Linked DNA regions of Homo sapiens: regions 2, 3, 4 and 5 are each linked to region 1. Evidence: promoter capture Hi-C in 16 types of primary human blood cells and fetal thymus (Javierre and others, 2016). All regions are on one chromosome and are shown on one strand. The core of a region is centred on a gene start or on the middle of the fragment in contact, and the rest is flanking DNA. Distances in the headings are between cores, read along the strand shown.

Evidence for each region. Contacts are between HindIII fragments. The CHiCAGO score rates a contact against its expected background, and 5 or more counts as called.
Region 2: a contact is called between a fragment that was not itself captured here and the fragment with the promoter of RPE in region 1, in 5 of 17 cell types (M0 macrophages, M2 macrophages, M1 macrophages and 2 more). The highest score is 21.8, in M0 macrophages.
Region 3: a contact is called between a fragment that was not itself captured here and the fragment with the promoter of RPE in region 1, in 12 of 17 cell types (M0 macrophages, M1 macrophages, M2 macrophages and 9 more). The highest score is 20.0, in M0 macrophages.
Region 4: a contact is called between a fragment that was not itself captured here and the fragment with the promoter of RPE in region 1, in 1 of 17 cell types (M0 macrophages). The highest score is 7.0, in M0 macrophages.
Region 5: a fragment that was not itself captured here is called in contact with the fragment with the promoter of RPE in region 1 in 2 of 17 cell types (M0 macrophages and monocytes); the score reaches 9.1 in M0 macrophages.

Annotation. Positions count from the first base shown.
Region 1 is chr2:209,999,922-210,005,859 of GRCh38, reverse strand. RPE (ribulose-5-phosphate-3-epimerase) reads right to left here and starts at 3,222. Exons shown (of 6, transcript NM_199229.3): 1 at 3,077-3,222. The coding sequence starts at 3,198. RefSeq lists enhancers at 2,954-3,123, 3,164-3,213. The HindIII fragment of the contact is 5,690 bases long and covers 1,198-5,938 here.
Region 2 is chr2:208,374,618-208,379,968 of GRCh38, reverse strand. It overlaps a transcript of PTH2R not described here. Among named protein-coding and RNA genes, the nearest start is that of PTH2R, 29 kb to the left of the region's middle. RefSeq lists an enhancer at 2,358-3,158. The HindIII fragment of the contact is 7,209 bases long and covers 1-5,351 here.
Region 3 is chr2:208,354,580-208,360,042 of GRCh38, reverse strand. It overlaps PIKFYVE (phosphoinositide kinase, FYVE-type zinc finger containing), which reads right to left. Exons shown (of 42, transcript NM_015040.4): 41 at 5,398-5,463; 42 at 1,297-4,853. The coding sequence ends at 4,738. It also overlaps a transcript of PTH2R not described here. Among named protein-coding and RNA genes, the nearest start is that of PTH2R, 49 kb to the left of the region's middle. The HindIII fragment of the contact is 3,331 bases long and covers 2,112-5,442 here.
Region 4 is chr2:208,474,709-208,480,850 of GRCh38, reverse strand. The region is part of intron 9 of PTH2R (parathyroid hormone 2 receptor); the gene reads right to left. Among named protein-coding and RNA genes, the nearest start is that of PTH2R, 71 kb to the right of the region's middle. The HindIII fragment of the contact is 4,948 bases long and covers 1,547-6,142 here.
Region 5 is chr2:208,336,412-208,341,820 of GRCh38, reverse strand. It overlaps PIKFYVE (phosphoinositide kinase, FYVE-type zinc finger containing), which reads right to left. Exons shown (of 42, transcript NM_015040.4): 28 at 4,893-4,983; 29 at 3,253-3,313; 30 at 2,266-2,403; 31 at 1,690-1,810. Among named protein-coding and RNA genes, the nearest start is that of PTH2R, 68 kb to the left of the region's middle. The HindIII fragment of the contact is 7,637 bases long and covers 1-5,409 here.

The DNA of each region.
Region 1 (5,938 bases), core at 1,973-4,472:
CAGGACTGTAACTAGAACACAATCTTCCTGTGAATCAGGAATCACAAACTCAATGCTGCTGAGAGTTAGGTAACATCAAAGAGCAAAACAGAGCAGATAGGGAAAGGGGCCAAATGAAGTACACCCCACATGACTAAAGGTGAGGCTGCCCCTGTCAGCTCCAGCGCATGTCACCTGGTAAGACTGAGGGCCCAGTGCTAGCAAGTCTTTGAACTGTTTTTTTTTTTCCCCCAAAAGTCAGAAATGCAGTATTAATGTGAAATCGTCCCAGTTTTAAATCCTGGTAGCGAATTTAGAAATTAATTCTTTGCTCTGTTCCCATGGTTAGGATGAACACATTCTAGTCACTGTCCTGTCATGATGCATTTATGTGTTTTCTAGGGTTTTTTTCCCCCAGAGAATCCACTTGTCCTTTGTTTCACATATCCAGTCATGCTAGTGCTCCACCTTCCACAGTATTCCCCAGACTGGTTTCTGACTTTCTAAATGAAGAAATTCAGTTGTAATCAGGGGAGAAATTGGAGGTCTTAGTGGGGAGGAGACTAGAAAACAATAAGCACATCCAAAGTGTAATGTTGGATGAGATTTTTAAAAGGGGCCAGGAAAAAAAAAACACGAAGGCAGTCCTGGGAGGGAAGGGACATTGTGGCTGGCCACATTTCAAAAAGGAGTCCACAGCCCACTTTCATAGCCCTAGCCTAGTAGACACCACAGCACATCACGTAGGGGCACTGGCACCAACTCTGCCAGGCTCTGCTGAATCTGGTGAGACATCAGGGAAGAAGCTGAATCTCCCTACACTGGTTTCCTCCTTTGCAAAAGGGGAATAGAAACAGCTCTTAACTCAGAAAGTAGAGAAGATTAAAAGGGAAATAATTTTAAAATTGTGTATGCAGAATTCAGTTTTTCCAAACCAAAGTATCTCCTGGCAAAGGGGAAGAGGAATCAATAAAAAACAAATACTTCATTTTTTATTTTTTTGTTCCCAAAACTCTGATCCATGGTAAATACTTTGCCTTACTGAGCTCAGTCTGCCATAGAGCTGCAAGGGGACAAAAGTGACTTCTGAGAGACTTCTCCTATTATGATTAAGCTATTCATTCATTCGGCCAACAATAACTAAGCACCTTATGGTGCTTTTCCAGCAAAGAATATATAGGTGAGCAAAAAGAAGATAAACTTGGCTTTCAGGAAGCTTATAGGGTAGCAGGAGAGACATGAAATAAGTTAACAAAAATAAGTATACAGTTAACAGAAATAAATACACAAATTATTAGTTGCTTTTTTGAGGCCAAACAATGTCTTAGTCATTCCCTGTAAGCCTAGGAACCACAGAAAGCATTTCATTTGAGACAACACAAGCTGTTGCATTGCTTCCAACCCTGGCTCCACCATTTCCTAGTTATGAGACCACTGGCAGATGACTTAACCTCTCTGTGCCCAATTCCTCGCTGTCAAATGCTGGTGGTAATAACACCACCAATTTCAAACGGTTGTTTGAGTTAATTCACAAAAAAACTCCAGAACAGAAACAGTCAAGTGCTCATAAACATTGCTACTATGGTTATCATTAATAATCCTGACTGGTGAACCGAAACAATTACTTTCCCCAACCATTAACTTACTCAAACATAGTTTAATTAAAACCAAATTGCTCAAATAGACTCACAAATATACACATAGCTGTTCCATCCTGTGACCCTCTAGGTATTTTCTCAGGCACAAAAATGTAGCTACTTACCTTTGAGGTAGACACTCAGGGTATTATTACCTGTGACAGTTTAGGGCTTTCAAGCAAAGATGTCAAAAATAAAGTATATAAGTATAATTACATATAATGGCCAATTAAAAGCCAACCTTTGTGAGAGGTAATATTTACTAAACTTTTTACACATTTGGCCTATTATTTTTAGTACTCTATGGTCAAAGTTTTGTCATTATCAGTTGGGTGGACTCCTAAGGTAACTGGGTAAAATGCCAAAGAGAAACAATACATTTAACCACATAGAGCAATGGAAGATAAAACTCTTCAAAGCCAGATTAACATTAAAAAGAAAAGGAAATCATCACCTTTAGAAAATAACACCAATTTGCAAACTGAATGAGGGAACACAGGGTTTTTACCTATTTAAAATAAATTTATTTTTCCATCCCCACTCAAGATAATGGTATTTATGATTTTTATAGTCAGTTAACAGTGGGGCTCAGAGAACTACTTGGCAAACCTAGGAAGAGCCAAGTTGCAAGTCTGTCACAATCTTCTGTAATCTTGAGGGAGTCTTACTGCTTTCTCTGGGGTTGTTTCCTCATTCTGTAACCAACTTCAGAAACTAATATCCTGACTCCAAACAATATTATGTGCTGTAACTACGGTGCTTAAAAATTACTTACAAAAAACTGACCTCCCTGAAGAGCAGGGTGCCTGAAGAGAAAATAGACAGGAAAATCAGAATTGTAATAATGATGTAATTAACAATTATAGAGAACTTAATATACGCCAGGCACTGTAAACTTCTCATGTACTCGCTCATTTCATCTTCCAAGATGCCTAAGCGGTAGGTTCTGTTAGTAGTTCCATTTTTCAAATTATGAAACTGAAGCTCAATGAGGTTAGTGGCTTGTCCAAGGTAACCCAGCAAGTGGCAGAACTCGGGAACCTAACCGCAGGTGCCAACTTAAATCGTTAGAGAAGTCTGTTTCCCCAGCTTTGCCACTAACTAGCTATATGAGCTTGGGCAAGTCATGCTTCTCCCCTTGGGCCTCAGTTTCTCTAGCTGAAAGTGAAGAAATGTCCTAAAGATTTAGGTCGCTTCCGGGTCCTAAGTGATGGAAGACCACACGTTACGTGGGGGGAGGGGAGGAACTGAGGTTTGGGACCCGGCCGCAACCCAGGATACCGCGTCGGTTCTGCTCCTGCTAGAGCCTCCAGGGCTCCTACCCCACACCCCTTCTAGCATCGCGTTCAGAGTGAGGCGCTCGGTGGTACAGGGACGCGGTACATCCAACAAGCAGTCAATAAAGGTGCACTGATCCGCCCCGCCGCGCGGCAAGCCCGACCGGAGCCCGGAGGAGTTACCCGTCCATTACGTCCAGGTGCAGATAATCGGCCCCAGAGTCTAGCATCCGGAGGCACTCGGCCCCTAAATTGGCCAGGTCGCTGTTGAGGATGGACGGGCCAATCTTGCAGCCCGACGCCATACCGCTGGCTCCCAAAAGCAAGTTACCCACGAGTCCCCGGCAAGGCTAGAGCGTCACCCCGATTGGGCGCGCAGTTTTGGCCCCGCCCCTTCTCCGTACAGGCTTCCGGATTCTACCGGAAGCAGCCACTCTGCGGTGAGGAAGTCCCGCCTCCTCCTGGGGTGGGGCGCTGTCAGCCGTCCGCCTGGGGCGGGGCGGGGCACACGGGCCTCGTACACCTGATTTTGACCTTCCTTCTTGTGCTGTTTGGATCTTAACGTCCTCGCAGTACTCAAGGCGTTTCTTAACCTTTTTTCACTTTGCTTCTCCTGCAGTTCCCTCTCCTCGGCTCTTGACTTAACATCACTTTTTGTTTCTCCACCCTTTGCATATGCCTTTCTTTCCTCTCCAGCGCCTATGCTGGCCCTTTAAAACAACAATTAAAAACCTTTCTTCCTCGTATTTCTCCTAGAGCTCTTCTTTTGAGCTGGAGGAACCCTGGCTCTGCCAGATACTAGCTGGGTGACCTGGCAAATCACTTCTTAACTTCGGTTTTCTCATCTGTAAAGACAGTGCCCAGCTTTAGGGTTGTATTAAATGAGTGAAGCCAGGTAATGCGCCCAGCAGGATGCCTGGTGCTCAGTACAAAATGGTAGTTATTATTATATTACCCTCTTTTTCTGCCTTTGCAGTTCCTCCTTACCTTTTTTGTTTTTCCCTCTGTTGAGGCTCAGAAAATGATAGCCCAAAGTGAAGGCCTCAGACGCAACAGTGTTTCTCTGACTTCCTGCCCTGCTCTCTTCTCAGTCTCATTCTAGGAGGCAGGTCATAGAAACTGGAGCCCATCTTCCCTAAGAAGAGTCATTGAAACCGGAACCCCCTTTCCCTGAAGCCAGACACAAAACCCAAAAGCATTACTCTAACTTTCCTCCACCTTTCTGTGTAAAAACTGGCCATAAATTATTTGACCCATCTCAACTGTAGGTTATAAAACTCCTCTTCTAGAGAAGGTTCTATCCCATATCCAGGAGGAGGGAATGCTGCACAGAGAGGCCAGGAATCTAAACTAGACTGGCCAAGGCCAGGTCAGTCTATTAGCATTAGATCGCCTATTTTGTCCAATCGTATTTCTACATGGCTGTCTATACTTTGTTGAACCTAAGTATAAAAATGGGTAATCACCCCTGTACCTTTGGGTCTTCATTCTGAAGGCTCCTGTGTCAGGTAAAACTATAATCAAATAAGTTTTTATGCCTTTTCTCCTGTTAATCTTCTTTCTGTCAGTGATTTTCAGCAAACCTTTGGAGGGTGAAGGGAAAGTTTTCCCTTGGCCCCTACACCTCTCCAATGCTCATTCACAAATTGTGATAGGTTTGTGTGCTGTTCACACACAGTTCAGAAATGGATGAGTATCCTGATGCTAAATGTGCCTAGGGTCAGGAAAAGAGACAGAAGTAAAACCACTTGGCGGGGATAAATGGACTTAGCAAGAGCAATCCTTAAGGGGTCAGAATAGAGCACTTGTACTCTGTGTAAAAGACGGAAGTGGTAACTTGGACTGAGAGGTGACAGCGTGCTGGCAGCCCTCGCTCACTCTCGGTGCCTTCTTGGCCTTGGCACCCACTCTGGCCGCGCTTGAGGAGCCTTTCAGCCCACCGCTGCACTGTGGGAGTCCGTCTGGGCTGGCCAAGGCCGGAGCTGGCTCCCTCAGCTTGTGGGGAGGTATGCAGGGAGAGGCACAGGCGGGAACTGGGACTGCAAGGCACTTGTGGGCCAGCGCGAGTTCGAGGTGGGCGTGGGCTCTGCGGCCCCGCACTTGGGTGGGCCGGCTGGCCTGCTGGCCCCGGGCAGTGAGGGGCTTAGCACCTGGGCCAGCAGCTGCTGTGCTGGATTTCTTGCCAGGCCTTAGCTGCCTCCCTCTACGGGGCAGGGCTCGGGACCTGCAGCCCACCATGCCTGAGCCTCCCCTCCATGCCGTGGGCTCCTGCGCGCCCAGCGTCCCTGAGGAGCGCCGCCCCCTGCTCCACAGCACCCAGTCCCATCGACCGCCCAAGGGCTGAGGAGTGCCGGCGCACAGTAGGGGACTGGCAGGTAGCTCCACCTGCCGCCCCAGTATGGGATCCACTGGGTGAAGCCAGCTGGGCTCCTGAGTCTGGTGGGGACTTGGAGAATCTTTATGTCTAGCTGAGGGATTGTAAATACACCAATCAGCACTCTGTATCTAGCTCAAGGTTTGTAAACACACCAATCAGCACCCTGTGTCTAGCTCAGGGTTTGTGAATGCACCAATGGGCACTCTGTATCTAGTTAATCTGGCAGGGACTTGGAGAATCTTTATGTCTAGCTAAGGGATTGTGAATGCACCAATTGGCACTCTGTATCTAGCTCAAGGTTTGTAAATGCACCAATCAGCACTCTGTGTCTAGCTCAGGGTTTGTAAATACACCAATGGACACTCTGTATCTAGCTAATCTAGTAGGAGAACTTTTGTGTCTAGCTCAGGGATTGTAAACGCACCAGTCAGCACCCTGTCAAAACGGACCAATCGGCTCTCTGTAAAATGGACCAATCAGCAGGGTGTGGGTGGGGCCAGATAAGAGAAGAAAAGGCTGCCTGAGCCAGCAGTGGCAACCGGCTTGGGTCCCCTTCTGAGCTGTGGTATGTTTGTTCTTTTGCTCTTTGCACTAAATCTTGCTACTGCTCACCTTTGGGTCCACACTGCCTTTATGAGCTATAACATTCACCACAAAGGTTTGCAGCT
Region 2 (5,351 bases), core at 1,186-3,685, 1.6 Mb after region 1:
TTTGGGATGATTCTGAGCCTTTGAATTTTTCTATTCTGGAGATTAGGAATCAGGAATTCTCTGTGTAACACACCTTCACAAACGGTCTCTCTCTCTTTTTTTTTTTTTCAAGACAGAGTCTCACTGTGTCACCCAGGCTGGAATGCAGTGGCACAATCTTGGCTCACTGCAACCTCCATCTCCCAGGTTCAAGTGATTCTCGTGCCTCAGCCTCCCAAGTAGCTGGGATTACAGGCGCACACCACCACACCCAGCTAATTTTTGTATTTTTAGTAGAGATGGGGTTTCACCATGTTAACCAGGCTGGTCTCAAACTCCTGACCTCAAGTGATCCGCCCACCTGGGCCTCCGAAAGTGCTAGGATTACAAGAATGAGCCACCGTGCCAGAGCCCAAGGTTCTCTTTAAGATGGATTTTTAATTATTAAAACCCAAAAGTCTTAAGTTTCATTGCTTCGCCTTTTTGATGACTTTGAATGCAGCAAATATCTTTCCAATGAGCAAAAGACAGTTCCATTTTTATTTTTTTATCACTGCAGTTGATTACCTGCAGAAATACAGGCTGAATTAATTATTAAGTATTTCACTTGTTCCAGGAATTCTTTCTTTGTAAATCATTAGAGAACTATGACACTCTGACGCTCAATTCTGTAAATGTACATTTACCCTGACTCTTTTGTGTCCCACAATATCCAACATTTCAACAAAGAACATTACCTGCTAACTTTATTAATATACATTTTCTTCCCATGAACACTTCCAGAAACCAGCTGCTGCCCAAATAAAATTATTAAGTCCCAGCCAAATGTGTCAAATATGATTATTTGTTAGAGACTAAGTGATAATGGTGGTATGAACTGCAGAGTCACACTTTGAAAACTGCCCAAGAAACTGTATGATGTGCAGAGAACATGTGTTTCACTAGCTATCTTTAGTTTTCAACTGTGTCTTCAGTTAACACTGTGTCTTCAGTTAACACTGTGTACTGAAGTACCATGCACTGTGCTGATCAGAGTATATGCACTTTCTCTAATCTTCACAACCACCCTGCAGTGTAACTATCATTATTCCCATATCTAACACAAGTAAACCGAGGCTCCAATGAAGGTAAATGACTTGCCCAATGTATAACTCAGGTGCACTGTCCTCCTCTTGCCTACCGCCTGAGTCCATTCAGGCTGCTATAACAAAAATACCTTAGACTGGGTGACTTAAACAGCAAACATTTATATCTCGCAGTTCAGGAGACTGGGAAGTCTGAGATCAAGTTGCTTGTAGATTCGGTATGTAGTGAGGGCCTGCTTCCTGGTTCACAGACAGCTGTCTTCTCGCTGTGTCCTCATAGGGTAGAAAAGGGTGAAAGGGCTCTCTGGGGTCTTGCTTATAAAGGCATTAAATTTATTCGGGAGGGCTCCACCCTCCTGAGCTAATTATCTCCCAAAGGCTCCATACTTCCTAATACCACCACTCTGAGGGCTAAGATTTCAACCTATGAATTTTGGGAGGAACTACGGAAGGCAATCATCTATCAATCTTACCTTACATATTGAAAGAGGCATTTTTCTCTCCCTCTCCCTCTCCCCACAGTCTCCCTCTCCCTCTCTTTCCACGGTATCCCTCTGATGCCGAGCCAAAGCTGGACTGTACTGCTGCCATCGCGGCTCACTGCAACCTCCCTGCCTGATTCTCCTGCCTCAGCCTGCCGAGTGCCTGGGATTGCAGGTGCGCGCCGCCACGCCTGACTGGTTTTCGTATTTTTTTGGTGGAGACAGGGTTTCGCTGTGTTGGCCGGGCTGGTCTCCAGCTCCTAACCGCGAGTGATCCGCCAGCCTCGGCCTCCCGAGGTGCCGGGATTGCAGACGGAGTCTGGTTCACTCAGTGCTCAATGTTGCCCAGGCTGGAGTGCAGTGGCGTGATCTCGGCTAGCTACAACCTCCACCTCCCAGCAGCCTGCCTTGGCCTCCCAAAGTGCCGAGATTGCAGCCTCTGCCTGGCCGCCACCCCGTCTGGGAAGTGAGGAGCGTCTCTGCCTGGCCGCCCATCGTCTGGGATGTGAGGAGCCCCTCTGCCTGGCTGCCCAGTCTGGGAAGTGAGGAGCGCCTCTTCCCGGCCACCATCACGTCTAGGAAGTGAGGAGCGTCTCTGCCCGGCCGCCCATCGTCTGAGATGCGGGAAGCGCCTCTGCCCCGCCGCCCCGTCTGGGATGTGAGGAGCGCCTCTGCCCAGCCGCGACCCCGTCTGGGAGGTGAGGAGCGTCTCTGCCCGGCCACCCCGTCTGAGAAGTGAGGAGCCCCTCCGCCCGGCAGCTGCCCCGTCTGAGAAGTGAGGAGCCCCTCTGCCCAGCAGCCACCCTGTCCCGGAGGCAGGTGGGGGGTCAGCCCCCGCCCGGCCAGCCGCCCCGTCCCAGAGGCAGGTGGGGGGTCAGCCCCCGCCCGGCCAGCCGCCCCGTCTGGGAGGGAGGTGGGGGCCCGCCTCCACCCAGCCGCCGCCCCATCCGGGAGGTGGGGGGCACCTCTGCCCGGCCGCCCCTTCTGGGAAGTGAGGAGCCCCTCTGCCCGGCCACCACCCCGTCTGGGAGGTGTACCCAACAGCTCATTGAGAACGGGCCATGATGACGATGGCGGTTTTTGTGGAATAGGAAAGGGGGAAAGGTGGGGAAAGGATAGAGAAATCAGATTGTTGCTGTGTCTGTGTAGAAAGAAGTAGACATGGGAGACTTCATTTTGTTCTGTACTAAGAAAAATTCCTGTGCCTTGGGATGCTGTTGATCTATGACCTTACCCCCAACCCTGTGCTCTCTGAAACATGTGCTGTGTCCACTCAGGGTTAAATGGATTAAGGGCCATGCAAGATGTGCTTTGTTAAACAGATGCTTGAAGGCAGCAGACTCGTTAAGAGTCATCACCACTCCCTAATCTCAAGTACCCAGGGACACAAATACTGTGGAAGCCCGCAGGGTCCTCTGCCTAGGAAAACCAGAGACCTTTGTTCACTTGTTTATCTGCTGACCTTCCCTCCACTATTATCCTATGACCCTGCCAAATCCCCCTCTGCGAGAAACACCCAAGAATGATCAATAAAAAAAAATTAATTAATTAATTAACTTAAAAAAAAAAGAAAGAGGCATTTTTAATTGAAGAGGATAGGAGTGGGAGCACATAAGAGGGGCGGATAAAAGAGGGAGTGACGTGCTGCAGAGAATAGAGCCCACATATAGGAATATGTCCAAGGCATGTGCTCAACATTACAAGATCAAGAAATAAAATGATGTGTCATTGGGTAGAAGCTGGGTTTTGATAGATGATTTGGATGTGTGCTTTCTTTTTTCTTACTCTTATTACTTAATTGTGTGGGCTAGGAAGCAAGTTCAAAAATAATAGCTAAAACCTTGTGGATACTCTTAAAAATCAATTTACATAATGTAAATAAATTTCTGCTGATCAATTCATGTGGTAACATAAAATTTTAACTTTAAAAAAGGACTAGTTTTACAAAAATATTTCATCTTCAATCAAAGCCTATTTGACGAAAATCACATATTTGCCAACCCAGATGTTATTTATATATAAAAACACACATAAAAGTGCAACAGTAGGTATTTTAATTTAAATAGGAACTATTTTATAACCTATAACAATGTGGATAAGAAAGTTCCTTCTCAAGTTTCCCTGGTTCGTTTCCTTTGTAATACTTTGTAAAGTGCTAGTTTACATTTAAAAAGCCTAGGATTTCAACCAATACAGTTTAACACTATATTATCTTGGCAAAAATGCCATCATTACTGACTGAAAAAACACAGAAATACCACGAGGCTAAATGTTAATGGTATGGTAAACTGGCATGCTGTTACACTGTGAAATGGCAGTGAAGCATTTATTAATTCCTTTTAGAATTGTTAGTGCCTAAATAAAAGGCCATGCCCAGGTTACCTGATGGGTATTTATTATGTGTGTGGGAAAGAAAGGAAAGTCTGAAACCTATTTCGGCTTCATGGAGAGCTAGAAAACTCTTCCTATTCATGATAGGATGGGAACTCAGAATGCTAAAGAAGTGCTGGAGACATGGGCATTTTGTCATCCTCTCTGGAGCCAGCTCTCTCTTACTCCCTACTCTGCTGAGCACACCACTCTCATGACCCAGCTTCCCTGTCAGTTCCTCCCTCTAGTCTCTGGTTATACACACAGAACCTGCTTCTACTGCCTTCTCTGGAAATCAAAATGACCAAGAAAGAGAATCTGATTAGATTCATAGGCATCATCCAACATGGAGCCTTTCTGTTCACATCACATCACATCACATCACCTCACAGGCTGCTGGGCTCTGGTACATCTAGACTATGCAGAGTTGCTCTGGGGATAAGAAAGTGTTGGATCACACAGAAGAAACTGCTTCTGGCCACTTTATTCTAAAGGGAAAACAAGCATGTCAAGTTCCTTGCCTTGCCTCTAGTTCAACTATAAAAAGAAATGTTAGCAGAGTCAAAAATGAGTAAAGATAGGTCGTTGCCTTCACAGAGCAGACAGTTTCAAATTATTAATAATGGGCTTTGAGTGGAATGACATTTAGGTGTCTTCACAAGAGTTTTACATTGTCCTTCTACCTTAGCTAATAGAGCCTTCTTCTCTGAGCAATACAGCCTGTTCCCTTCTCAAGGTACTTGAAATTAAGTGTTCAAGCTAAACTTTCTTCTCCTTGAGGTTCACGGGGGGATTCATTACTTTACAAAGAGACTGCATCAAGTTTACATGTTAAAAAGAAAACATCCTGGTCTCAGATGGCTTATAAAATAGATACTAGAAAACAAAGATTTTTGCAACCAACATAACTCTCTGAAATTAAAAAAGTAAAAACAAATCTCATCTCTAAATTCACTTAAATATCCTTCAAATAAATCAACTAATTTTTGTCATGTTGCTAATTAAATATTCTCTGAGAATGTTTACCTGTGTCAACAAAATAGACCTCATCAGTCTTCACCTCACATCTTATGATTATTTTACATCCAGTGCCACCACTAAACTGCAAGCTCCTTGAGGCTAGGAGTGGCGTCTTTCATCTTTGCAGCACCGGATCTAGCCAAGAATACGTGTTCAATGCATGTTTTTTGATTGAATGAGTGAAGGTCTTTCCTGGTTTAGTTGCTTTTAAAAATAAATGTCATTTGGGCCGGGCGTGGTGGCTCACGCTTGTAATCCCAGCACTTTGTGGGGCTGAGGCAGGCAGATCACCTGAGGTCAGGAGTTCGAGACCAGCCTGGCCAAGATGGCGAAACCCCATCTCTACTAAAAAAAATACAAAACTTAGCCAGGCGTGGTTGAGGGTGCCTGTAATCCCAGCTACTCAGGAGGCTGA
Region 3 (5,463 bases), core at 2,528-5,027, 1.6 Mb after region 1:
TCTCCGACCCAAAAAACCTGTGGGTGGATAGGGACTGGAGAGCAGGCTGCCTCCCAAGCCCCATCCGCTCCTCCCGCCCAGCACGAGAACGTGGAGGAAGTGACTGGGCGCCCCGCAGATCTGCCACCTCCCGGTCTCCCTGCGCAGCTGGCCACCAGCCCAGCCTCCTGCCCAACCACCTCTCAGGGTACGCTCTATCCAGCCACCCTCGCCTTCCCCTGCAGGAACCCAGGCAGGGGGCGGGCCTCCCGGCTTCCTGCCCACAGGTGTGAGTTCCTGTGGGAGGGAAGCCTCCCCTCACGTAGTGGACCTGTGGTCCCTCGGAGCACGGAGGCACTGGCAGCGGAGAGCCCTGCCCACCCACAAATTCAGCCAATCGCAAATGGAAGAGGGCAGGACTTCCTTTAGTGCCCTATCAGAAGAAAGAAGGGGAATGCTGCTTGCCCAGTATTGGCTGAAATGAACTGTGGGTTTACCTTAAGTTACGGATTCTCCAGTGGTTAAACAACCAGGAAGAGAATGAACAGAATGAACAGAAAGCGACACTGCTAGGCCAGGTGAGGCAGAATAGTCTGGAGGCAGGGAACCTAAGGCCGATTCACACTGACTTTCTAGAACTAAATCAAAAGGAAAACCCCAACTTTCTACATCTAAGTAACAAAAGGACTGGAATACTCCGTTTGCAAGCACCCTCTTCCCTTTTCTGCATGGCAGACGGAAAATTGAAAGCATCTCTGATTGGCTGCTTTCTGCAACCAGACATTGGCATAGGAGTGTAACTTTGTAACTTCACTTCAGCCTCTGATTGGTTGCTTTCCACAACCAATGAGATGCTTGCATAGGGTGTAACCTTTGTAACTTCGGCCTCTGACTGGTTGTTTTCCACAACGACACTTGCATAGGGTTTAACCTTTGTAACTTCACTTCAGCCTGATGGGTTGCTTTCTGCAACCAATCACACTGATTGCAGGCCACTAATTAATTTACACAGGGTGTACACCAACTAACCAATGGTAAATCCCTAGAGGGTATTTAAACCCCAGAAAGTTCTGTAACGGGAGCTGTTGTGCCCCAGTGCTCCTGGGCTCCTACTCTGTGGAATGTACTTTCGTTTTCAATAAATCTCTGCTTTTGTTGCTTCATTCTTTCCTTGCTTTTTGTGTTTTGTCCAATTCTTTGTTCAAAACGCCAAGAACCTGGACACCCTCCACCAGTAACACAAAGACTAGGCTTGCAGGACAAACTCCATTTCCTTTTGTTGTCAATTTCTTCAAGCAGATTCAAAACTAAGTGGAGTAAGTAGATTCTGAGTTTATTGTTAAGATTTCTTTATTTACAGTACAAGTCTCCAAAAGTTCAAGGCAGTTATCTTTTAAATAACATGTCAATCATATAAAATAGCTAGAACCAAAGTAGAGAAATATATACAATACATTAAGTACTTTCAATATAGTGGCATTTTTCATATTAAATTAAAAGAGGCTACTATGATTTACAATGTCATTTCCCTAGTTTAAAATTCAACATGTCAAAAGACATAATGTACATTTTTTACAAAACTGACACAGCAGTATTAAAACTGCTAATGATTGTAGTTTTTATTTTTTCTATAATACACTGCACCTGTGTTACCAAAAAAAAAACAAAAACAAAAACATTGCACTAGATGGTTTGAATACTGCATAAGTCAGTATATTAACACTTGAGGAATAATGAATGGCCTGGTCCGTTTTATGATCAGGCTCATTCACAACAGTTTTCACTCTTCAAGCTCAGCAAACTCCTACAGGTAATTACTTTCCTTGGCAGTTTTACACAGGATCACTGCAAATGGGTAAAATGTCATGAAGCTGATGACCACAATGCCATCACAAAAGCTGATATCGATATAACCCTACTATTTACAATACCTAATAAGAGCCAAAGCTAGAAAATCACTCACTGCTAAATCATGGAAAAAATTATAGTTTGTAGGAAATTTTGAATATCTATAAAATATTCAATAGACTACAAAAGAGCTTGCAACAGCTTGTTCTCATTATTTTTCTTAGGTCAGAATTAGAAAAAAGTAAATCCTATTTTTTAATAAGTTTTGATGGCATCAAAAAGCTTCACATTTATAAATAAGATTTTTATACAAAGCAACATGTTACTGACATAGTTTTCTCTTGCTACTATCAATTATTCTCGGGACTCATGTTGTATGTTAAGGAAGGAAGTATTAAGATTTCTTCCTCATTCCTAAATTTTCAGAATATACTCTAGGCCTTGAAGGAAAGGGAAACAGTCATTCAATACTTAACACTGAGTAGTACAATATTTGAAATATATCTATGATAGTGGCCTAAACAAGAGCAGCAAGGGACCAGACATATAGTTCTACCACTCAATAGAAATAAATTGTATATTTCCCCTTCATTAATACTGTCCAATTTTAAAATGAGAGATTACCTTTGCAAGGCAGCAACTATTGTTTCAGAATGTATTATATTGAAAATTTTTGCCACAAAGTTACCTACTAGACTACAGTACTTTAAAACACAGTTGTTCAAGTCATGGGCAAGGAAAACAAAATCAACAGGACAGATTATTGTCAGAAGCCATTCCTGTGGAGCATTCCTGCTATGCACATAGAATTGAAACTAAAAACAAAGAAACAACCTAATTGCACCTAGGGGGAGACACCTTGTACTTCAAGTGCTCATGACTAGGGGAGTACAGGAAACAGACAGGAATAATAACCTTAAGTATCCTCACAGAAAAAATGAACAGAGACAAAACAGTGTTGGCATTTTAAATCAGATACAAAATCCATTGTTCCTAGACACAAAGTAAGTTAATAATGTTCCACATTTATTTTTTTACCTCTGTACAGCTCCTTTAATAGTCTTTGATTTCAAAACTAAAATCCTCAGTGTTTTGTGTATCTTCAAAAGGCACATACACGTTTTTAAAAGGGGCCAAGTGGAACTTAGCATCACATTAGTCATAAGTCCTTGGTCAACTTGCTTCCAGTTCAAAACAAACCACATTTTTAATAAGCACCAAATACCAAACTACTGCCTTGATTCTCTAAAGCAAATTTTCCACAATGTTCCTAATTCAAGTATTCATCATACTGTGTAACTGAACTTGTCCAGATTTCTTATTATGTGAAGGTTAATGTGCTATTATTATAGGCAGTCCAAAAACAGTGAAATCCTTACAACTTTATAAATCCCTAAATTATCCTTGTTACAAAAAGAAGTCAAGAGGAAATATTCTGGGGTTACAGTATTTCCTCAAAGATAGTTTACTACTTCTGATCACTTTTTAAAATAAACAAAAATGCTATTAAACAAGAAGTTCCTTACTAAGAATAACTTTCTTTTTTTGTTTCGTTTTGTTTTTTGAGACAGTCTTGCTCTGTTGCCCAGGCTGGAATGCAATGGTGTAATCCCAGCTCACTGCAGCCTCCGCCTCCCAGGTTCAAACAATTCTCCTGCCTCAGCCACCCAAGTAGTTGGGGTTACAGGTATATGCCACCATGCCCAGCTAATTTTTTGTCTTTTTAGTAGAGATGGGGTTTCGTCATGTTGGCCAGGCTGGTCTTGAACTCCTGACCTCAGGTGATCTGCCTGCCTAGGCCTCCCAAAGTGATAGGATTATAGGCGTGAGCCACCGCACTTGGCCTATTTCTTAACATTTCTTAGTAGTCAGAACTAGCCATTATGTAGAAAGTTGGAAAAGGGGATGTCCACAGTAGAAATTTTTTATTTTATAGATGCCACCTAAATTGCTGGTTATATTGAAAAGACACTTTACCTCTGTGAATAAAACAAGTGTTTCCTTCTCACTCAATTTCTTGGATTGGGCCTAATTTATTTTTTATATTTCAAAAATCTTTCATTAATAATTATTCCATTAGGGTTTAGTAACTACAGACTCATTTACTAATGATTTACTATGATACCCTAAAAATAGAGAAAAAACCCTAGAATATGAGCGTATGCAAGTAAGTGCAATTTAATATATGAATTGCACAAAAATTTTAAACAAGTTTTAAAAATATCTCTAAAAGGAGGCTTAAAGTTAATTGCTGTAGCCTCCTGTCTTCCACAGAGAAGACAAAATTTTAAAAACATCAAACATACTCAAAAACAGGCAAGCTGGAAAGATAAACAACATGACAGGATTCCCAGTTTAAGTCAAATTCCTCAATAAAACAATAAATGCCCACGTGTTTAACCGGCCATTAATGGAATAAATCAGAATTTTTGTAAAGGTTTCAGAAATTCTGATAATAAGTAACATTAAATTATTACAGAAAAACACAAAACAAATTCAGCAGCTCTACAAATGCTTTCTAAGTAGATAACATGTTAAATGTGATGCCAGGATAGTCAATTTATGAGACACTGTTTTCTTCTTAAAACAATTAAGCTAGCAAATTTAACCCATTTTTCACCCTATCTACTCATCTCCAACTTTAGCCCTTTGAAACATGTCTGTATTTTAGCTTAAGAAAATTTTCATGCCACTTCCCAACCTACAGACAGCTCCACAGGTATCAAAAACCAAAGTGCAAATTCATGGAGTTTTACCATTCCATTACGGACAGTCTAAACAGCCACAGAACTGAAAAGCCTTGGCATACAGTGGTGAACACGATGAAGAAATAAAACATGTAGCTTATTTTTGGTCCTTTGTTCCTGTCCCCTTTTCCTTCACAGTCCATTTCAAAATATGTGCTTGATTTCAGCAATTCAGACCCAAGCCTGTCCAGTGGTCTGGTACCATTAGGAAATACTTGTCCATTGCCTCACAAAACCTAGTCCTGTACAACTCCGGAGACACCACTGTTGGCATTTTACCTGAGATTATGAAAGAGAAAAGGGGGAAAAAGCTGTTATATAATTGATTGGGCAACTGAAGTCAACTGACCATGTTCTTTCATATAAACTGCCATAAAGATACACATGCAGAAGCAGTCTGAGTGGGCAGGAAAGGTTATCTGTTGTGCCACATGCCATGGGACAAAGTCCTACCTGGTACGAGTTTCTGTTTAAAAAGACTAGCTCCTGCCTAGAGATGAGCGATGTCTAAGAGCACAAATGAGGCTAACAGTGCTTAGAGAACTTGGAAGTCTCAAGTGTTAATTAAAGACAATCTCTTATTCAGAACATCTGGCTTTTTAAAAAATCTTTTTGAGAACCTCTGACATTTTAACACATATTTACACCCAATATTTCCCCACCTATATAATTCTCATTATTGTTTGGTCACTTTAGAAATGACAATGAAATCAATGATAACCACTTATTTTTTACAACTAAAAAAAAGAATCAGTATCCACTTTTAAAATTTTAACTGATAAGAAATACATGTGAACAATTTAAACAAAACAAAAATTCTCACCTTGTCCACCTAAAATTCCTGTTGATTTCACAACCATCTCAAGCTTTTTGTCCCATGTAAATGTTC
Region 4 (6,142 bases), core at 2,771-5,270, 1.5 Mb after region 1:
CAGAGGATGATCTGCTGGGATCCACAGGAGCTTTCTAAACTGAAGTTTAGATGAAGCCCTTTGGCAAAGTGGCAGGACAAAGGGTAATAGTTATTATATAAATGTAATCAACTGTCCTCTTTAAAATGAATTCTCAGCTACTTCTCTACTTTAGAGAGAGGAATAATAGAGCTATTTTGGGGATTCACTCTGTCTATGATGTATGAAAAGTATTGGGTGAAGGTGATATGAAGTGTGTGTTTTTTTTTAAAGGGAAGTAAGATGTTACATAAGAAAAGGCTCCCAGTGTAGTCAATGAGATTGATTTTTTGAATGTTATAAGTGTGAATACCATTAGAGATAATCAAGTTCTGGCTTTTAAAAGGGGAGGGAGGGGAGTGTTGAAGGAATAAGCCCCTTTCTGTCTGAGGACCTCAAGGATCAGTGAAGACATTCCAGATGAAGATGAAGAACATGTCTCCAGGTCTGGGGTCATAAGGGGATGGAGGCCTGAAACTCTGGGTCCCTCCATTCAGGGAGATGTCTGCTTTCCAGAAAGTGCTAGTGCTTAGGAATAATGGAAATGTAGATTGCCAACAGTAGGCACTTGTCCCTGCCAGAGCAGGGGCAGAAGAGAAAGCCATCAAGTCCTGCAGTCCTGGGGATAACTTGTCTGGCAGAATCCTCAATCATTTCTAGAAGTTAGAGAATTTTGGTTATCAGAGGATTTGTGCACCTCAGTCCCAAATTCAGCTGACTGACTGTATCAGCCCTGAACACCCCACCAAACTCACTGCTATCCGACCACTGACAACCCTGTGAGCACCTCTCAACAATCACAACTTTCTACAAGAACTGAGGGCTAGGTCTTGAGCCCCACACATGGGGGAAAATCAAAGTTGTGCTGTGAGCTGATGAAAGGAAAGGGATGTTTCCAGGCCGATAATAGCTGCCATTTATTAAACATTTTCTAATTTAAAACCTTACATGAACATGGAGGAGACACTTTTATTTTTTTACATCCATTTGTTATGGATGAAGAAACTTTAGCTCAAAGAGATTAACTGCTTTAACCTGGAATATCCACCAATCGGCTAGAATTTGAACCAGGTCTATGTGAGTCTGTATTGTGAATCCTTAACCACCATCTGATACCTTCTGTTCAGGAGGACAAAAAGATGCAAAACATGAGAGTTGAGGATTTCCATCTTCACCCACTACAACTCGCAGCTCACAGATAGATTTTGTTTTAATAAGAAGGTGAAAAGCTACTTGAGTACTGCTCAGGTCACTGAGAAAGAAGCACGTGAGTGCTACTTTCTGAATGACAAGATTTATTTCATGCCCCATTAATTCCTGTCTCTCTAAGACAACAGTCACCGGCAATACGATGTAGCTGAGGTGAAGATATTGGGGAGTGATGCATGGAACTGCTGGGTGAAGGACTAAGTGCTAGGAGCTGAAGCTGGAAGAGCTGTGGGGCAATACCAGCTGGATTGCCATTTGTCACACCTTATCCCGGAAAAGGAAGAAGTATAGATGGCTTCTGATGGGCCAACCTTAAGCTTCACCTTATTAAAAGACCCAGGACCAAGCACTCTGTCCTTTAGTAGACTACACTAAATAAATCTGCACCCCCCACCCCCAGAAAAATTGGTTAAAGGAAATACATGCCGATGAGTCCACCCATTTAATAACTGAGAAGATACGTTCAAGGCCAACCAAATTGACTATGGAAAGAATTAAGAATTTTAAAATATTAAGACCAAGTAAAACTTGATGCCTTAAAAGATAAGTAACAAAATACACACATGACATATATACACACATATTGATACATGCGAGAACAGCTGGATGAAATTCTAAATAATTATTCTGAATAATTTAGAAAAATATAGACTATGGGTTAATCAGAAACTAAGTTATTGACTACTAACTATGGTAAATGAATTGACTCTTAGTCTCACAGCAGCTCTATGAGACAGGCATTTTCTTGTCCCCATTTCACAGATGAGGAACCTGAGGCACAGATTCCACATATTTTGCCCAGCCACACAGCTAGCAAGCGGCAGGGCCTTAATGCAGCCCATGCGGCCTGGATCCACACTGTACACCCTTAACCACTGCACTATGGTGTCCATAAAATAGAGTTGAGTTAATAGTAGACTGAGATGGAGACAGAAATTTAAGAGCAGGATTGATTAACAAAAGATTATAAGGAATCTAAAATATAACCAAATTTTAAAATCACTATTAGAACAAAAAACAGTAGATCTGACAAAGCAAGAAAATGAATTCAGCAATTTAGGAGACACCTGAAGAATCCTCCGAAAGGGAGGGAAAAAGAACAAAGACTTGAGAGTTTGAGAAAGGGTGTTCGAGTGAGGATGTGGCCAGGGATATAAGAGTGGAAATCGCTACACTTTTGGCTTTGATGATGGAGGAAGGGACCAAGAGTCATGCAATGCCAGTGGCCTCTAGAAGCTGAAAAGGATAAGGACTCCCCCCAGCACCTCCAGAAGGAAGGCAGCCCTGCTGACACATTGATTTTAGGACTTCTGACTTCCAGAACTGTAAGAGAACAAACGCATGTTCTTTTAAGCCACTAAAAAAAGAAAAGAAGAAGAACAAAGACAGCTGTGAGGAGGTATATGAGGTATAAGATGCCTATCTGGAGGATGTGGCAGATTACTTCTTTTTCTGAAGAAAAGATAACAATAGAATAAATCAATAAAAACATAACAGAAGAAAAATCTTGCACTAAAGGAAGACTTGAGTCTGCAAATGGGAAGGTGACATTTTATACCAGGCAAAAGAAATAAAAGAGAATAAGACAAAGAGGAAGTTTCTGGTGAGATTTTAGTAGTAGTAGTACTAGTACTAGTAGTAGTGCTAGTAGTACTAGTACTAGTAGTAGTGCTAGTACTACTAGTAGTAGTGCTAGTACTAGTAGTAGTGCTAGTACTAGTAGTAGTGCTAGTACTAGTAGTAATTTTTTTAAATTAAGACATAATTCTAAGAAAAAAATCATTAAAAGGTTCTTGTGTATTTCATGTAAACTTCATGTAGGAAAAATTTTGCTTGAAGCAAACTACAGACAAAACAAAGCAAAGAAATTTAAAAAAAGAGAGATGGCTTAGAATAACATGACCTTTAATAAACATTAAAGCCAATAACACATAGAATGAATTTTTTGTAAATATGGTTTTAAAATAATGCAAATATAGAAATCAAATTATTTTGCAATTAAAGATTCATTTTTTTAATTCCAATAGTTTTGGGGTAGAGGGGTTTTTTTTTGTTACATGCTAAGTTCTTTAGTGGTGATTCCTGAGATTTTAGTGTACACATCACCTGAGCAGTGTACACTGTACCCAATATGTAGTCTGCAATTAATGATTTAAATAAAAGTAAAGATTTGTTCAGAGTGAACCACAGATGAACTAAAACAAAGAAAACATTTCAGCCATGGAAGTGCCGGCTGCTCAGGCTGTCCTGTCTCTGAGACTTGGTTCCTGGAGTTTTCTTTGCCTGGATCGTTTACTCTCTCCACTCATTCGCCCTTCCTAGCCAAGTTCTCAGGGTTCAGGCTGAATGTCACTTATTCTCAGAAGCATTTTTCATGTTTAAATGTTAGTCTCACTCACTAAACTTTAGCTGTGGGAGAAGAAATTCATGTCTATCTTCTCCTCTACTCTCTCCTCTCCATTGCCTCACACAGGGCCTGCAATGTTCTTGGTGTTTAATCAAGATTTGTCCAATGAGAGTGAATAAATAGGCAAATGAGATATGCGTGCTCTAAACACTACTTATACTGAGGTAAATCAGCACATCCCCCTTCAATGTAGAATTTTCACTTCTAGGCATAACTCGCAAAAGATGTAATCATTTAAAGAAGTCAAAATTTAGGCATAGAAAAGGTAACTTGCAGTGAGCAGACTTTCTCTGCAGCGTCTCCAGGGATAGGAGCCTACCCTTCAGCATCCTGTGCCCAGGTGGGAAGATCCTGACTAATTATGGGGTTCTTCAGTGGATCCACTTGTCTAACTGAGCTAGGGTCACATCATCCACCCCAGCCTCCCGCAGCAATAAGGTTCTCCCTCACTCCCTTACTTTATATCTTAACATGTTTAGAATCAGGGCAGCCAAGAGAGATGCTATGTGTTAGTTTCCCTCAGAGACACTCTAAATACATCATATCTGCTCACCCCATGTATTGGCTTATTTTTCAATATCACAAACATAAGAACTTTTTTGCTTTGTTTATTTGCATATTGGTACTAAATGCTGAACTTTTACATAACAGGTAATAAACTCCCTGATCTCTATCAAATACTATAATTTGATTATCTGTATCACAAATATAAAGACAAAATATATAGTTCATTTCTAATCAGTTGGAATTCAATTTATAACTTGGAGACAGTTTCTATGGCAAATGTTAGAGCTTTAATTTCATTTAAAGTTATATTTCTAACTGACTTAGAAAAGAAAAGGAGTTCTGAAGGGGAGATTTTTCTCTGGGGGAAAAATCAATTTGGTATTTATAATTGTGTCAATGATCAGAGATTAAATTTTATCCATTTTTCTTAAAATTCCTTCCTTCCTAGTCAACCCTTGTTTTTGGTGACTGCACCTCTCCCTGCAACTGGGAGAAAATGAATCACTCACCCAAGAGCAGCTGAGAAGCATGTACCTTGTTTGTCCCTTTCTTTTCATATTTTGAAAAGTGCACTAGATATAATATTTTTTAAACTTATCACCTAAAATATTTCCTAAAGGCCTTTACTAGAAATACCATCTTATTCCTTCTGCCAGAGCTCCCTAAGATACCTTGGGACAGGTATGCAAAACAAAACATTTATTTAAAAAAAATTTAGCTCAGTATTTAATGCACTCTATGTAGTATGCAGCTTCCTCAGGAGTCACCTACTTGCTTAGTCATTCAATGTCATTCAATATTCAAATTTGATCATTACTGATACAATGAGCAAACCCATGATAAACACCACAAACTGTTTATTGACCAGAAAGATTAGTTCTTAGCTTGGATACACAATGATGATGTGAGGCATGATGAAACAAACATCTAAAAGTAAGTAAATATATGCCAATAAAAAGTGACCTGAAAAAGAAAGAATCTCCACTGCCCCATATATTCCTAATACCCATCAACATCTCTAATGCAAACCACAAGGTGTCAGTTACGTTAGTTCTCTGGAGGGTTATTTAAAGGTCAAAATCTCTGCAATAATGTTGTCAGATAAACATTGGACAAGATATCCCCAAAATGCTTCCCAACTTGAACATTCTTTGATTCTATGAATTATTTTTATGGAGTTGCCAGAAAAGGAACTACTGCCTGAACTACTGCAAAAAATAAGCATATGAATTCTAAAGTCTCAATGAGTGCCAGACCCTAATTCCCTAATAGGTTTTATGGTGTGTTTGTTTTTTTAATGCCAGTTAAGGGTTGCTTTAAACACTGAGTTTAGGATTTTCTCTTTTATTACTCCTATTCTGTAAGCATAGCTTAGATGTATGTACTATAAGAAAGGTGACCCTGGAAGAAATTTCTATTATTCAAATATAAAAGATATGTCATTAAATTAGTTATACATTTACATTTTATGACAATATTTACCTTTTCTTGGTTCTTTAAAAAAAAGTTCTCCTTGTTGCATTTTCACATTTTAATTCAGCTAAGATGAATCAACTCATTATAAAGGAAAATATTTTGAGACTTTACAGCATCTCCAAAGAAATGGATTTAAATGAATGGAATATGTGGGACTAACTCTCATCAAATAGCAAAAACCATGGATTGCCATCACGCTTGCTGCCCAAGCTCACCAGCTGCTGCAGCACTGATCTCCTTCCATTACTCACATCAGCAGCTGACAGTTATTTACAGTTGTTACCATTTTAATAAAACTCTTTAATTCCTGTCTCTTTCTTAGAAGGTTGCATCAAGAGTACAGTCTCTCATACAGATGTCAGAATCAATCAAACAGGACTATGCACTTAAAGGTGAATAGTACCTCTCTTAGACATTTGCGTCTCCAAGCTAGTTCATCTTCTCCATCCATCATAACACCTCTAGAGTTTTCTTTTTAAAACCCAAATCTGACCCACTTACTAACCTGCTTAAAATATTTTGATG
Region 5 (5,409 bases), core at 568-3,067, 1.7 Mb after region 1:
AAATTCATATGTTAAAATCCTAACCCCCAATGTTATGGTATAAGGAGGTAGGGCCTTTAGGGGGTAATTTAGGTCATGAGAGTGGAATACTCTTGAATGGGATTAGTGTCCTCATAAAAAAGACTGGACACAGCTCTCTCAGCCTCCTTCCACCACATGAGAATACAAAGAGACAACAGCAATCTACAACCCAAAAGAGGACCCTTGCCAGAACCCAACCATGCTGGCACCCTCATCTCAGACTTCTAGCCTCCAGGACTGTAAGAATTAAATTTCTGCTGTCTACAAGCAACTCAGTCTATGGTAATTCATCAGAGCAGCATGAACGGACCAAGACAGGAATCATAAGAGCATATAATAGAAACCTACTCTGACTGGAGCAGGAGGTAAGGGGGAAGGTCTAGTAAATTCTTCTTAGAAAGAACAGGACTGAATGATTAAAAAAGACTGTGTTTCACAAAAAGTGGTTTAGAGAGAAGAGAAACAAACAAAAAGAAAAAAACTATATTAAAAAAAAAAGTTTAAAGGGCCGGGTCCAGTAGCTCAGTACTTTGGGAGACAGAGGTGGGCAGATCACCTGAGGTCAGGAGTTCGAGAGCAGCCTGGCCAATATGGTGAAACCTCGTCTCTACTAAAAATACGAAAATTAGCCAGGTGTGGTGGCGCACACCTGCAGTCCCAGTTACTTGGGAAGCTGAGGCAGGAGAATCACTTGAATCTAGGAGGCAGAGGTTGCAATGAGCCAAGATCACACCACTACATTCCAGCCTGGGTGACAGAGGGAGACTCTGTCTCAAAAATAATAAAAATTAAAAAAATAAAAATAAATGTGAGAGCATGAACAAAGACCATAACATAAGAGGGATCCAAGCCCAATCAAGAAACTGATATAATCAGGTCTAAAGTAGAGAAAAAAGGGACCTTTTATATTTTACTGTCATGTAACATATCACATACTGTACTGTGAGCCCTAACTGTATCTTCCCAAAGATTATGAGCTCCTAAGAGTGATGACAGTTCCTTACAAATCTTATTCTACATCACAGGACACTTAAACAGGCACTAAATAAAAGTTTAAATACTGATTGAATAAATATGTAAGTCAGTTAATAAAATAAAAGGCCTTATTAACAAAAATGTCCACTTTTTGGATATACTTGTTCCATAACAAGGGCAGCATTTGATAGCCACATGGGTCAACCAGTGGAAGAAAAATAAACTTTCACAGCCAGCCTATATTCTTTCCAAATTTGAGTGCACCCCATAAAAAAAAGATCACATGAAAACTTGTACAAGTCACTGTAGTTCATCATCAGTGCTAGGACAATGCCATGTCCCAGCAAATCAACTACCAACCTCATATATAACCAGCAATATGTTTTTATAATTATTAAATCAGTGGATATAGCCACATATCTTTGAAAAAAGATAAACAAACAAGTGTTTCCAGAACAAGTAATTCAAACATTTATAAGTAACACTGGCTAGTGCTTTATCCACTCATCTACTATATCATAATGATTATATATTCTACAAATTACATTGTATCAAAAGACATCTCTTTTACTAAAATGAAATAAAATTTAGGATTGAAAAATCATGCATCAGATAAATATATTTAAATATGAAGCGAGCAACTAAGGAAAAATAACCCCCCTGCTAAGAGCCACTGGTTTTAATAATACTTACAAAGGAAATGGAATAGGATTATAGCTATTTCCTGGAAGCAAATTTGCAAAGATGGCTTTCATGGTTGACTTTTCCTTCACTTGGCTGTCTGTGGATCCCAGCAAATGCCCATCAAACACATCTAAAATGAAAAATAGTCTACTTATATATTAATATTCACAGAGAATAAGAAGTATAAACTGCTGACTTTGGTTCTTTTCCTTTCGGAATATGGACATATGTATACTATACCAATAACAGTTTAAAATTTCTGATCAAGGGAAAAGACCACTATGGGATAAAACAGGAAACAACAGTGAAGCATACACAGCATGGACTCCAAGGGACACTTGTTTTTTTTAAACATCTCTGAAGCACTGTGGCTATTACACCCGAGTTAAATAGCAATTTTAAAGTTAATTTCAAAGTTTATACTATAATTTAAGTAGTTACCACCTAAACAGAAAGCAAGGCATGAATCTGTTATTATGAAGCAAATATCTGTCCTTAGAGAAATGGCTGTAATTCATGTAAATCAATGATATATCTTTCAGTCTTAGATACAATGAAATATGGTAAAAGTGACTTAACCTCTACCTTCGGAACTGCTGGCTGTATCTAGCTCAGGGGGCCCTCCCACTGACTGTTCAGACATGACTTCAGGTGGCGTAGGCAATTGGAGATGAGTAGAACTGGTGGAGCTCTGGCTGGACAAAGTTGTTAAGAAGCGATCCTCTAAAGAAAAACACAATCTTAAATGAGTCATTTACATACATTAAGTCCATGTCTACCTAATATTTTTTAAATGCTCATTCATATGCCTACTTCCTAAAAGGTAGAATTTTTACTTTTTAAAAATCATCTAGGTCATATAGCTCATGTCATAGAAATGGACACAAAAATCCAGAAAGATTATATATGACTTGACTACAATCAAATCCTGGTAGCAGTACCGCAACTGTCAACCAAGACTGACTCCTATCCAACACGCTATCCATTATACCACAATGCCTACCTAAATATTAGTTTTTAGTTTAATAGAGAATGAAATTAGGACACTCTGAGAAAGACGGCATGCTTATTCTGGGAGAGAAAAAGCAATTATAATAGAAAAATGCCAAGAATTGTAAGTTGAGCTCCTGGTTCTACAGTCTATGTAAATTTCCCCACAAAGTTTCTATGATGACACCAAGTTATTCAATGAAATACTGTGAAAGACATCTTAGGTCTAGACAATATTTTAGTGACATTAAAAATGTAAATTAAACTTTATAAGATTTTTGCAATGAAACCTGGGGATTGACTTTGTAATAAGCAAAAAAAATTCAATTTACTTTTTTCTGTTTTTTCTTCCCCTAATAGCAGCCTTCTTTATATTTCATGTATTTCTATAACCTGATTTATCTTATTGCAATACACTATATGATAATCTTAATCTGATAGGATTACAAGTGCTCTACAGGAAGGAAAAGAAGTCTATGAACAACAGCATCGGAAAAACTGCTCAAACAGTTTAAAACAACTTATACAATAAGAAATTTCTTTAAATCCTACGGCAAGTGATCACCAGACTCAAGAACCAACCTTTTTCTCCATTCTGAAGTCCTGGAGAAATATTCCGTGGAGATGCATCCATCGCACTTATCTGTAGAGAAGTAAATACTTTGTTCTTATGGAAAACATGAAAATCACATTCAAAAAATTTTTTAATCCAGTGAATCTTAAACTTTTTGGTCTCAGGACCCATTTATACCGTTAAAAAATTACTAAAAACCCCCTTAATATTTTTAATTAGCTTTTGTTTACCTTAGAAATTTTTACCTTATTAGAAATTAAAACAGAGAAAGTTATTAAATGTGCATGAACTCATTTATAAATAATAAACCCATTAATATAAGTAACATTTAAACACGTAACATACCGATTTTCTAAAATTTAAAAAAAAAATTGGTGAAAGAGTAGCACTGCTTTACATTTTGAAAAATATCTTTAATGTCTAGCTAAATAGAAAATAGCTAGATTCATATTTGGCTTCTGCATGTAATCTGTTGAGATACACCATTATGATTGAAGTATATGAAGAAAATCTAGCTTCATACAGATATGCAATCGAAAAAAAAAATAAAAATGAGCCAGGTGTGGTGGCTTACGCCTGTAATCCCAAAACTTCGGGAGGCCAAGGTGGATGGATCACCTGAGGTCAGGAGTTTAAGATCAGTCTGGCCAACATGGAGAAACCCCATCTCTACTAAAAATACAAAAAATTACCTGGGTGTGGTGGCACACGCCTGTAATCCCAGCTACTCGAGAGGCTGAGGAAGGAGAATTGCTTGAACTCGGAAGGCAGAGGTTGCAGTGAGCCGCGATCGCACCACTGCACTCCAGCATGCACGACAGAGTGAGACTCCATCTCTCAAAAAAAAAAATTTTTGCAGAGTCCCTGAAAAGGTCTTGGACTATCAGGAGTCCTTGAACCACACTTTGAGAATTGCATTCTAAATAGTAGCTCGCTTCCTGGAATTAAGCATCTAGGTATAGATATATCTATCTATCTAGATAGATAGATCGATAGACAGATAGATATATCTAGATAGATTGATATATATCTAGATAGATCTATAGATAGATATAGATCTATACAAGATTATTAGGTGTAAGGGATAATCCTAAGTATTATATCTATATATATCTATATAGATGTATCTGTCTATAAATATCTATATAGATATATCTATCTATAAATTTGTGGTTTTGGCCACTATGTTTGGGATAATCTGTCACTGAGCAAGAGAAAACTAACACAGTTGAAAAAGAACTTACGCAGTTCAAATACCTTAAGAAAAACCTCTTATTTAAGCACGGAGATTTTAAAAACAACCAAAACTGCGGAGTATAAAATAAATGAGCACCCTATTATACTCAGAGCATCCACTGACTTTCCTCTGTAGCACTTGCTGTCACCATGATGCTACCCTCAGTGATGCAGCAAACTGTAGCTTTTATAAACATTTCAAATAAATAAATTATAAGTGATCATTTTATTTCAGGTTATAACATAAAAGTAATCCAGGTCATAGTTCCTTGAAACCTCACAAATTCAAAATGGAAAACCCTACTGGATATCATTACTAAAGTACATATTAAACTATCCCTGCTAAGTATTATAAATGAAACTAACTATATTTCTATTGATTAAGGACCAAAGACAAGACTACATTTCATACCTTGCTTTCTTCCCCTTGTCTCAGTCTTCCAGGACTTGGAGGAACTGAAGGTCTCTTTCTACCCTTTTCCTGTTGGAAAAGGTCCTGCAACCTGTGGCCAAAAGCAAAAAATATATATATATATGGTTTGTTTCTAGCCCCTTGAGTGCTGTTTATAAATTTTCTCTTTACAACTTTGAAATCACAAAGTTTTCCTATTTGGATTACCATAGTCTTTAAAGTTATATATAAATAAGAGTAAGTTTTTGTCATATCTAATTAACCAGGAGCATTTGTTGATCTCACTATAGTTGTAAAAAAAAAATAGCAAATTATTATAAAGAAAAATACTTCTAAAAAATAAATGTTTAAATAAAGGCATAAGATAAACATATCAATATACAATATATTTGAAATTGCTGGCCAAAAACCAATAGTGACTTATGGCATACTAATTCAGTTAAAAACAATTCAACAGCACACACATCTGAACAACATTGTTTCAAATTATATTAGAAACAGCATCAAAGGCTGTTCT